2 separate regions of the Homo sapiens genome follow, and region 2 is linked to region 1. Evidence: promoter capture Hi-C in 16 types of primary human blood cells and fetal thymus (Javierre and others, 2016). All regions are on one chromosome and are shown on one strand. Each heading gives the region's core, a stretch centred on a gene start or on the middle of the fragment in contact. The rest is flanking DNA. Distances are from core to core; before and after follow the strand shown.

Region 1 (6,031 bases), core at 1,959-4,458:
ATTTTAGGCAGTTGAATTAAGCACCCCTAGTGACTCATTGGATGGAAAGGGAGAAAGAAAGTTAGAAGGAAGATATTCTAGGATGACTCCCATACAGGTTCCTGCTCTGGTGAATCACAGGGTATTTTGTCAAGATGGAGAATATGGATGGAGGAGGTTTGGGTGGATATGATGAGAGTGGAGAGATAATGAGTTTATTTGGGACAATGGGGTGCCTGAAAGACAGGTGAAGAGAGATGGGTAAACTTGGAAGGGAGAGTGTAGACCACATGACACTCCTCCAAATTCCTTTAGAGGGTAGGGTGGGATGGAGTGTGGAGGGAAGGAGAATCCACAAGGGGAAATGAAGCAAAGCAAACAACTAGCACCTAATATGGGACCTGTTGGGCTGATTTTGCTCAGGGCTGGGCATCAAGCACATCTGGAGAAAAATTGCAAATGTAATTGTAAGGCAAGCCTTTAAAGAGCAGTTAAAAACCTGTTTTGAAACATAGGTTTCTATAACTTGTTGCAACATGTTGAGTTACAGCAAATGAAATAGAGAAATACTCTCAGTGCTTTTTAATTTGCCCTGCTGACTGGAAACCTCGGAACTCAGCCCTATGAGCTGTTAACCAGATAAGCATTGCTGGTTTTTGTAAAGAATTATGCTTGACAAATGCTTGAGGGCATATGGATTTATTGAAGGAAGTATTGTCCAAACCAGACTGACAAAGAAAGTTTTACAAAGAAAATATAATGAAAAAATGTTGGGATTAAAATGTAGGTCTTTTCTGTTTTATGATGTAGTTATGAAATGTAAATTAGAGGATGTTTCAATGAACTTTTGAATTATAAGTTAATATAGTTCATAAACCATAGGAATTAAGTACTATTTTAAAAATAGGAATTATACTTCCACTCAAAAACACCTATTTTGTGGAACACTAAAGTTTGAAATATATATGTATAGAGATTAGACTTAGAACTCACAGAAGGTAAATTCAAGAAATTTTTAAAAATTACTCCAAAACATTATTTTAGTTCTTTCCATATCTATTTTGTTCTAGGAACTGAACTGGGTTCTGAAATAATAAAAATAACTGGTATCTGTATAATGTTGTGGTTAATCCCAACTTTATGCAACTATTCTATTCAATGTGGTTTCTGGGGGTCCAGATAAAATATAACACTTGAAGCAGAGTGGGGATTGAGGGACAGAGAAAAAAAAACTGAGAACTGAGAATTGAAGAAGAAAGGCAAATTAGGAAGTTCAACAAGGTTAGGAGAGTAGTGGAGCCAAAAAAACAATAGTCATGAGAACTGAATATAGAAACTGGACAATGGCTAGATCTTATATGACAATTAGAACTCTGACCCACAACCTCTACAGCAACCAGCCGAGAATAATCAGGACTTGGTCAATGACTCAGTTTCCCTGTTTTTTGCCGCCTCCTTTCTTCAACTCAGAACCCACTAAAGACAGCCAAATATGCTACCTACCCCAAACCAATCACCTAAGAGACACTACTTTTGTTAGCCCACCTCCAGCTTTCCCATGCTAATACCCTCAAGTCAGAGTATACATGAAACCTTCCCTTTTTGTTCACTACTAAGCTTTCCTGGCCAGGTGCAGCTGCTCATCCCTGTAATCCCAGCACTTTGGGAGGCTGAGACAGGAAGACTGCTTGAGCCCAGGAGTTCAAGACCAGCCTGGACAACATAGTGAGACTCCATCTCTACAAAGAATTAAAAAAAAATAAGCTGGGCATGGTGGCACGTGCCTGTAGAGCCAGCTACTCAGGAGGTTGAGGTGGGAGGATCGCTTGCTCAGGAGGTCGAGGCTGCAGTGAACCACGATCGCACCACTGCACTCCAGCCTGGATGACAACAGAGTGAGACCCTGTAGGTAATTAAGTAAGTAAGTAGTTTTCCTAATGTCCTGACAGGCTTTGAGTCGGCCAAATGCAAGTGATGGTGACTGACTCCCTTGTCATAGTAAGCTTTGAATAAATAAAGCATTTGGGTGGTCTTCCTCCCCGATCCCCCCCATTCATTCATTTGCTTATTAATTATACATTAGTTGTGTTTTATCTGCCAGGCAGTGGCCAGTATTGGGAATATGTGGAAGCAAATAGTCCCTGCCTTCAAGGATATTCTGTCTAGTGGGACAGACAGACAGACATATACGTATAATAGTAATTCAACGTGCTAAGTGAAACAATAGGCATGTATAAAAAAGGTGTAGTAGGTCAAGTAGGGCTTTTAGGGGAAGGCGACCCTTAAGATGGGTGGTAAGGGATGAGTAGGAGGTGATTTGGCTAAGAGGCTGGGACGGTTATTCAAGGCAGGTGGAGGGGCAGAATGAGCAAAACAGGACGCGTTGCTGGAGCGTGGTAAGGAAGGCAAGTAGCGGCAGAGGACGGCGGTAGGGCGGATCGTGGGGCGCAATGGATGTGCCACGTTGGAAAGAGCTTGGACTTTATGCCGTCCTCCTGGAAATGAGATAACGGCTGGTGTAAGCAAGAAAGAAACACACACACACCCACGCGCGCGCGTCGTTTCCTTTGTGTTACTGTAAGGTCAAGGAGGGCGGCGACACAGAAATTCATGATGACTGGCATAAGCAGACATTCAATGAATGAATGAATGGACATAAGCACTTTGGTGTAAACGTCATTGTCTTCGATTTCTGTTTTCTCACGGGGCAAGACAGTGAGGTCGGGGCATCAGTTTGGGAGGTGATAGGGAAGGTTTAAGGTGAGAGAACTGCCATTCTGGTAGGGAGGGTCAGTGGGCACAAAACCAACAATAGGTTATGGGCAAGGGATGCGCTTCGGTCGCGAACACCCTGAACCCACCTACCGGAGCTACTCTGTCCCAGGAGCGGCCGTGGAGAAAGCAACCAGCCGAGAGTTCGCGCCCCAGGGAGGGAAGCGGGCACAGGGCCGCCCAGCGCCACTCACCTGTGAGCTCTCCGCGGGCCCTGCAGGCGGAGCCTCGGTACGACGCCTTTCCGATTGGGCGCGGCTCAAAGTCCCGGGGCGGGCATCAGAGGCCGAGCGCTCTAGGGGATTGGCCACCCTGGCGGACGGACGTGCTGCTGACCGAGCTGGTTCGCCCCCGGTTCGGCTCGTGGAGAGCCGGCCCCTCCGTGAGTCTTCTGTCAGTCATTGGCTCCCTGCGGTTTCCTTGGGGACGTGGCGCCGCCGCCGGCCGGGCCCTCCTTCCGGCTGGGCAAGGGGCCGCGGGGAGCAGCTCGGGACTGAACCGAGAGGTGCCGAAGGAACCGGCGGGCCGCTTGATCCCGTGAGTGTGGGCGCGAGAGGGCTGTGGGACCCGGAGGGACGGGGAGAGGAAGCGGGACCCACACCCCGCCACCTGGGGACGACCGGTTCCTAGAGGACAGAGCTGGCCCACGAGAACGCCCCGCTCCCAGGATGCCCGGGTAGGGTCCCCTGGGCCTGAGGAACCAGAGCAGACGGAGCGGGAGCCTGGGGAGGAGGTGGGAGCCGTGGAATTCCCGTGCAGGTTTGTCTCGTGGGCTCAGTCGGACAGAAGCCTGAAATCAAATCTTTCTAGGCTGCAGACGTAGGAGATGCCTGGGACAAGGAGGCCACCTTCTCAGGGCAAAAGAAAAAGAAGGTGACAGGCGTTGAGACCACCGAAGGGAACCCATGGCTAGGTAAGGCTGCACACTTTCCCTCCGGCTGGGAGCACGGCAGAGGATGGCAGGCAGGTTGGGGGGCCCTGGGAGGCTGTCCCAAGTGAGGTTTGCCCTGGAGCTGCACTTGGACTTTGTATTCTGGTTAGTTGGATGCAGAGACGATCAAAGTTGTATTATTTCGAGGGCTGATAAATAATAGTTTCTAGCCCATAGACCAGGAGTGGTAGAGTGAGTCGGCTTGCTCAGCTCTGTAAAGTGCAAGGTTGTAACATTGATTCAGATTCGCATCTGAGCAAGGCTAGGTGCCACTTGAGGAGGTTAAACAAAGAAGTTTTTTTGTTTTTTGTTTGCAGTGAACTTTAAAAGCAGACAGACCGAGGTCCTTTTGAATCAATATACAAAGTGAACTTCACAGATGAATACACTTATCCATACATTATAATAACCTGAAGCTTTTAAAAAATATTAATGTGGATCTACATGCACCAATAAGGGAAAGTTATAAAATAAAGTGGGGGAAAGATGCAGAACAGCAGGTATGGTGGACTACCATTTGTGTAAAACCGAGGGAATGGATACGCACACACACACACACACACACACACACACACACACAGAGATATATTACTGTAAATATATTGGTGTATATTTATGCTTGTGTATCCGTAGAATATCCCTGGAAAGATACACAGCAACGGCCAGGTGCAGTAGCTCACGCCTGTAATCCCAGCACTTTGGGAGGCCAAGGCAGGCAGATCACCTGAGGTCAGGAGTTCAGGACCAGCCTGGCCAAGTAGAAACCCGGTCTCTACTAAAAATACGAAAATTAGCCGGGTGTGGTGGCAGTCACCTGTAATCCCAGCTACTGGGGAGGCTGAGGGAGAAGAATCGCTTGAACCCAGGAGGTGGAGGTTGCAGTGAGCTGAGATTGCGCTACTACACTCCAGCCTGGGCAACAGAGCAAGACTCCATCTCAAAAAAAAAAAAAATTACACAGCAACTGGGTAGTAATGTTTGCCTCTGAGAGATTGTGGGGTCAGGGCAAGAATCACTTTTCACTATACAATATATCCTTTTAAACTGATTTGTCTTTTACTATGTGCTTGTATAATCTGGTAAAACATTTTTAAAATCAGTTAAATAAATTTTCTGACCATCCTGTTTCTTGACAGAATTCTTGGTTGGGAATACTGTAGTTGCTCTGATTCTCCAATGTTATGAGGTTGCCCAGGGAGACTGGTGATCTTTTCACTAACATGAGATTAAGTCTTTGAATTGCACTCAAAGTGCAGTTTGGAAAAAGGGCAGATAAGGCTTTTCTGATATATATAGTAGAAGCACCATGAGCTTCTTCTAAAATTAGAGATGACAAGAACATTTAGACTTCTGTTGGCATGGATTTTTGCCTTTATTAGGAGGGTTTTATCCAATTTTAAAACGATATTTAAGCACTCAGTTGTAGAAATGTTTCAGACTTACTAATGTTTGTCTAATTTCAGGATCAGTTTTTCCTACCTCTGCCCAGCCTCCTGGTACTTCACTGTGCCCACAGTGAGTCCATTTCTCCGTCAGCGGGTGGCATTCCTGGGACTCTTCTTCATATCCTGTCTCCTTTTACTTATGTTAATCATAGACTTTCGACATTGGAGTGCTTCATTACCACGAGATAGGCAATACGAAAGGTGAGTCAGCTTTAGATTTTGGCACTCAAGTCATAAATATTTTCATAAGCTGTTTAACACACTACTGACTTTGACCCTTTTGGGTGATACTGTACTTTTATTAGTAAAATTGCATGCCATTTATTACATAAAGAAGATTTTAAGCCCTATTTTGGCAATATGCAGTTTGGTACAGGAATACTGATACTGCATGAAAGGCATCTTTGTGTTTTCTTGTTTTGGTGGGCTGAAACTTATTGTGTGTATAAATGTTTAGGACTGTATTATACCTTTATGAATGGACCCCTTTATCATTATTAAATGATTTTCTTTATCCTTGATTATATACTTTGCTCTGAAATCTACTAGTCTGGTATTAATATAGCTACTCCAACTTTCTTTTGATTAACATTAGCATGACAGATATTTCTTCTATAGTTTTAGTTTTAGCCTATTGGTGTCTTTATATAAGTGGGCTTCTTGTAGTCAGTGTTTGGTTGGGTCTTGTTTTTTTATCCAATCTGACTATCTCTGCAGTTAATTGGGGTGTTCGGGCCATTTATATTTAATCTGATTATTTAGTATGTTTAGTTTTAATCTTGCTATGTGTTTTTCATTTGTCACATTTGTTCTTGTTCTTTTTCCTCTTTTTCCCTCTTCTTTTCAGTTGAGCACAGTTTTTATGTTTCCATTTTATCTCTCATGTTGGCTTATTAGATATAAC
Region 2 (6,031 bases), core at 914-3,413, 530 kb after region 1:
GGCTCATGCCTGTAATTCCAGCACTTTTGGAGGCCGAGGCAGGTGGATTACTTGAGGTCAGGAGTTCGAGACCAGCCTGGCCAACATGGTGAAACTCCGTCTTTACTAAAATACAAAAATTAGCCAGGTATGGTGGCACGCACCTGAAATCCCAGCTACTCGGGAAGCTGAAGCAGGAGAACTGCTTGAATCTGGGAGGCGGAGGTTGCAATGAGCCAAGACTGTGCCACTGCACTCCAGCCTGGGCGACAGAATGAGACTCCGTCTCAAAACAAAATATAATGTGTTCCTTCTAGAAAATACATTGAAAATGTCTGTCAGATATACTTTTGCAAGCAACTACACTTCAAATTGGAAATTACCTGTATTGTGGTGACATTTGTAAACATTAACATCCGCTAAAAAACTTAAATGCCTTTAATAAAGGCAAAAAAGTAAGTAAAGTATTAAATTTTACTTCCTTCAACTCTGATTACTGGAGTATTTTGTAAAGTCTATATATTTAATTATAGCCTGTGCTACAGTTGTAGGTGTACTGCATTGGGCCACATGTATAATGACCCCAAGATATATACCCTGGAACTTGCTTTCTTTAAAAAAATAAAATACCTGATATCAGCTTGCCTTCCTGCCATGTGCTTTTCTCTCATAAAAGTAGAGTACAGAATGTGCAACTGCATGACCTCCTGAGCAGTGATGTAACATGGCTGCACTTCTGCAAAACTAATTATGGGCAGAGCTTCCAGGAAATGCTGGTGCTGTAGAGGTCTCCATGAGTTGTGAGAAAAGCGACAATACACAAGCTAGCAAAGAGCCACTGGCTTTGGATACGGCACATCTTAAGCTGAGAAAATAACAGAAATGGATAGTCATTCAGCTTTTAGCAAAAGAGTAGGAATTAATAAAATATAGGGCTTGGAATCTGAGTTCTTGCAAAACTGATTTAAAACACTGAAAAAAGTCTAATCTTAGAAATACAAAGTTATAAAATAGATCTCAAAAATTTATTAGAAGGGTAATCAAGGATCCCCAAAATGATAAATGCAAAATGATAGCATAATTTCTCATAAACTGTTAATGAAGGAGTAAGGTTTGAGTAAAAGAAAGTAATAAGCCAATAAAAGAAAGGACTTAGAACTTGGACTTAGCTAATAATAAGCAACATTTGAGCTAATAATACGCAACATTTGCTGAACATTTATTTCCCAAGCACTTTATATACATTGTCTAATCAAATTTCCACAGCAGTTCTATGAGACATTCCTGTTTTACAGGTGAGGAAATATGAACATCAAAAAAGTCAAGTAAGTTGCCTAAGATTATTACAAAGGGATAGTCAGGACTCAACCCTGGTCTGAAGGCACAGAAGACTACCTTAACAACTACTGCCTCATTCCTATACCACTGCTATGAAAACACAGCTATCTATTGTTACAAAGTAAACCCACCCATCTTGAGGAGTTACCACACATGACAGAGAATGATCATGTTCTGCTGAAGTCGGGGGCAGCCATGCTGATGTCTGAGGGGTTACTGCACCTTCTAGACTGGATCCTACAAGGGACCGGGCAGAACTCTGTGTCTGAAGGAAAAGAAAAAAACATCAAAAGATTACAGGCAAGCATCTCTGTTGATTCACACAATTTCTTATCATATTCCTAAGACTTACATTTCCGTTACTACTTATATGCACAACCAGAGTATTTCAGTACAAAACTATTCCCACCTTTACACACCATTAGTAACCTGTCCTTGGACCCTTTCTTCATTGACTAAAACCAAATATATCCACTCATCTTATACCATTTTAGTTGAAGAAAGAAAAAAAAAACCCAGTTGAATAGATGGTCAATTTCATTATCTAGGCAGGTACATCTATCCCCAAGTTAGGTTGGAATACCACAGTAGTCAAGGGCTAAGAGGAGTATAACAACAGAGAAATTGGAAAGGAGAGATGATAATAAGTCCTGCATCTCAATTGCTAGTCTGGACACCAAGCAAGGAACATGGATGTCATCCCAATGCAAAATATACATGTCTTCAAGAGGGCCCACCTCATGCTGATAAAAATCCCCTTTGCAAGGAATAATAGCAACTCAATGTCACATTAAATAATTCATTAATAATTACTTACACAGGCAATTTTAAGGAGATGCCATATTTCTTTCTGCCTTTTTCCCTGCATGAACATGACAGTATTGTCAGCTTCTTTGATATTACTGAGGGCCACTTCCACCTTAGGGAGTAGATCAATAATCTTCTGCTTACAGCCCAACAACTTGCTGGAGAGATTAAATCAGTGTCAGACACTTTCACATGCCCCAAGACTGTACACCATATTCCCAAAACCCAGCTGAGGAAATGAACCACAATCAGCATCAGATTTAATGACTTATCTCCAAAGTAATGCATACAAAAGGACACATAAATGCAGATAGCTATGGCCAAGCTACCCAAGGTACCTTCAGAATTCTTCCTGGGTAAGTATACTTTACCAAAGAGGGCTTTTGTACTTTGAGAGGAACAAGATAAACGTATCCTGGTTTTTCAGTAGGAAATGAAGCAATTTTCCTACCTCAAATGACCAAACAGCTCCTTGAGCACACGGTCCTGACTCTGCACAGTGTGCACAATGATTTTCACCATCTCTGTGCTGTCACTGTAGGAGTGATCTATAAAAGACATCAGTCAGTGGATATAACCTTTCTTCTGTAACATATCAGCCTCCAAACAAAAAATTCCTCAAAAATCCCTGAAACTCTGAAACTAATTTTAATTAATAAACATCTCCATTTAAATTAAAAATTGGGTTAAGATAAAAGATATAAAGATTACCTATAAATAAAATCTAGTTATATATAAAAAATAAAGTTTGCAGGTGTATAATGTATATATAAATTTATCAGTAAGAGACCTTAGTTGCCTGTGCTTGAGAACAATAGTCTTGGCTATCTTTAACCCATACTAACCCAAGCCCTAGACACAAATGCAGCCTCTGGCCAAGGGAACAATTTTTCTTGGATGATTAACCACATATTTAGAAACAGTAGGACAATTCATCAAACTTTCATTACCTAAAGGAAGGAGGCCCTTGAACTAGGTTGCTTGGAATTTCATGTTTATCCGTCTGTTTACAACCCAGAAAAACTTTGAAAAAAGCTCATTGAAACCAACTAGTAAAGGGACCTGTAGACATCCTGAAAGTTCCATTTGAGGGCAGTATGACATCTTAAAGCCAACTGGCAGCAGCCAGATACCCTCAAATGGGATGGCTGTTGGTCACAATGGGTTCTACAGTTTAAAATGTGACCTCGATTTTAAAAAAAAATCATTAATTGTTATATTTCAGAAAATGGCTAAAGGAGTTGAAAGTTGCTTATGCATCATGCTGGTATATTCTTTGGACAATAATTAAGCCTAAATGCAATAATAATAATATTTGCTACTCTCTGCTTATAATTTTCCCATTTAATCCTCACAGCAGTCATGTGAGAAGACTACTTTTGTTACCCCCATTTTACCAAAAAGGAAATGATGAGCATCAAAGGAGGTTTAAAAAACGTTGTGTCCTTTGTTATCTATCACTCCAAATACTTCCCCCATAGCCCAACTTTATTCCCCACACATCTCTGTTGTCTCCTCCTCACCAACAATCAAATGCAAGGCTCCAAAAAGGTTCTTCTCCAAACAGCATTCCTTCCTAAATACCATGGACCAAGCCAAGAGCTTTCTCATATAACTAGCTCCTTAAGACAGTGAAAGCCCTCAGAACTTTAGCCTTCTCCAGGATAATGAAGAAAGCTGGTTTTAACCATTTCAGATGAACAAGAGATTCAAGTCAACTCTAAGCTAGAAAAGACAATAGAGGCCACAAATCAAGTGTGATTATATAATAGGCCCCAATGACAGACACAATCTTGTTACAGTTTGTCACTCAAGGTGACACTCAAAGAAGCTACCTGGGTAGCAGTTTATTTCTGAGCTTCATGGTATGTTGACAGGGCTGCCTCAAAGTTTTAAAAAATATAACCTAAACAAATGCTATCACTGTGTATCTGTGGTATCTGATTCATTAGCCAGAAAACTGGGAGTCAGAATTTTTTTTTTGAAATGGAGTCTAGCTCTGTCACCCAGGCTAGAGTGCAGTGGCACAGTCTTGGTTCACTGCAACCTCTGCCTCCCTGGTTCAAGCAATTCTCCTGCCTCAGCCTCCAAAGTGGCTGGGATTACAGGCATGTGCCACGACGCCTGGCCCAGAAATATTGATTAAAGAAAAAGAATTGGACTTGCTCTATTTGAAATCTTAGATTTTAATATTTTACTCTAGCTACAACTTCTATCACTTAAATCACTATTTGTTAACATCTTCAACCTTTTTATCCTCTTATTCCATCAGCAAAATCCTAACCTTGGATTAATCCAACCATCTGCTCTATCAGTTCCTGTATCCAAGCTACTAAATTATCAACAAAAAATTAATATTACTGTTCACTATTTGTCACTGCTAATTCACAGGTTTTTCATTTCTGCTCTGGGTTTTTTTTTTTTTTTTTTTTAAGAAAGTCTTGCTCTGTCAACCCAGGCTGAAGTGCAGTAGTGTAATCTTGGCTCACTGCAGCCTCGACCTCCTGGGCCTCAAGCGATCCTGCTACTTCAGCCTCCTGAGTAGCTGGGACTACAGGCATACACTACCACACCCAGCTTTTTAAAAATTTTATTGATTTATTTTTTTGTAGAGACAGGGTCTCACTATGTTGCCCAGACTGGTCTCAAACTGTTGGCCTCAAACGATCCTCCTGTCTCAGCCTCCCAAAGCGCTAGTATCACAGGTATGAGCCACCTGGCCTGGATTCTTAATGAATGTTTTGGGTCAACAACATCTTCCACTGCACACAGTGGCTTTTAGAAGTCTTTAGCACTCTATTCAAATCTATGAGGTCGTCACCTCTTCCATTTCAGTTAACCTCACTTACCACTGCAGGATAAGAGGCCATAAGGCAGTAAGACCCTGATCTTCCAACCTCTACTCCCAAAAAAGTATCTGTATCCACACTCATTCTCTTTCCAATATCAATAGTATCAAGGCTAATCCCTCCTACTGTTCTTTGGAGCCAATCTCTCAACTTGTTCAGGGACCTCCCTCTCCACAGGCTTTTTTGGCCCTGAGCATATGTTCTGAGAAGTGCATCATTGGGCACTTTCGTCACTGTGTGAATACTTATACAAACCCTGATGGTACAGCCTGCTATACACTTAAGCTGTATGGTATAGCCTTTTGACAATAGGCTACATACCTGTTCAGCAAGTGACTGTACTGAATACTGTAGGCAACTGTAACACAATGGTAAGTATTTGTGCATGTAAACATAGAAAATACATAGTAAAAATACAGTAGTATAATCTTATGGGACTACCATAGTATACACAATTTGTTGTTAACCAAAACATCATCATGTGGCACCTCATGTTTAAGTCTTCCTTCTGAGAAGTGACCTCCCTTGACTCTACATCAACTTTTAGCTACTCACCCACCTCTCTTCTTTCCTGAGCAGCCAAGCTTCTGAGAATAGTCTAGATAAGCAGTTCTCAAACTTTTTGGTCTCAGGACCCCTTTACACTAGAAAATTCTTGAGAACCCCAAAGGGTTTTTCAGGAATTAAACAGAAATTTAAAAATACTCGTGTCTTAATTCATTTAAAAATAACAAACCTATTGCCCATTAACATGTTTTTATTAAAAACAAACAAAAAAACCTATATTTACGTTTTCTCTCTCTCCTATATTTAGGTTTTCTCTCTCCTGAAACTCTACACTCCAGTCATACTGCATTTCCTCAGACATGCTAAGTGCTATACATACATGTGTCTACACAGTATACTCATATCTACGAGAGCCACCTCCTTTCACTGGTTACTGCTACTTGAGATACTTGGAAGCCTGAAGTGGAAGGATCACTTGAACCCAGGGAGTCCAAGGCCAGCCTGGTCAACATAGCAAGAGCCCACCTCTAAAAACAAAAACCAAAAAACGA

The links. Contacts are between HindIII fragments. The CHiCAGO score rates a contact against its expected background, and 5 or more counts as called.
Region 2: a fragment that was not itself captured here is called in contact with the fragment with the promoter of ENTPD7 in region 1 in 1 of 17 cell types (monocytes); the score reaches 5.7 in monocytes.

What each region holds. Positions count from the first base shown.
Region 1 is chr10:99,656,301-99,662,331 of GRCh38, forward strand. It overlaps ENTPD7 (ectonucleoside triphosphate diphosphohydrolase 7), which reads left to right and starts at 3,209. Exons shown (of 13, transcript NM_020354.5): 1 at 3,209-3,288; 2 at 3,562-3,664; 3 at 5,146-5,328. The coding sequence starts at 3,657. It also overlaps a transcript of SLC25A28 not described here. RefSeq lists silencers at 2,888-3,097, 3,218-3,437. The HindIII fragment of the contact is 2,116 bases long and covers 1,981-4,096 here.
Region 2 is chr10:100,191,850-100,197,880 of GRCh38, forward strand. It overlaps CHUK (component of inhibitor of nuclear factor kappa B kinase complex), which reads right to left. Exons shown (of 21, transcript NM_001278.5): 17 at 2,576-2,672; 18 at 2,135-2,282; 19 at 1,449-1,582. Among named protein-coding and RNA genes, the nearest start is that of ERLIN1, 8.8 kb to the left of the region's middle. The HindIII fragment of the contact is 6,783 bases long and covers 1-5,555 here.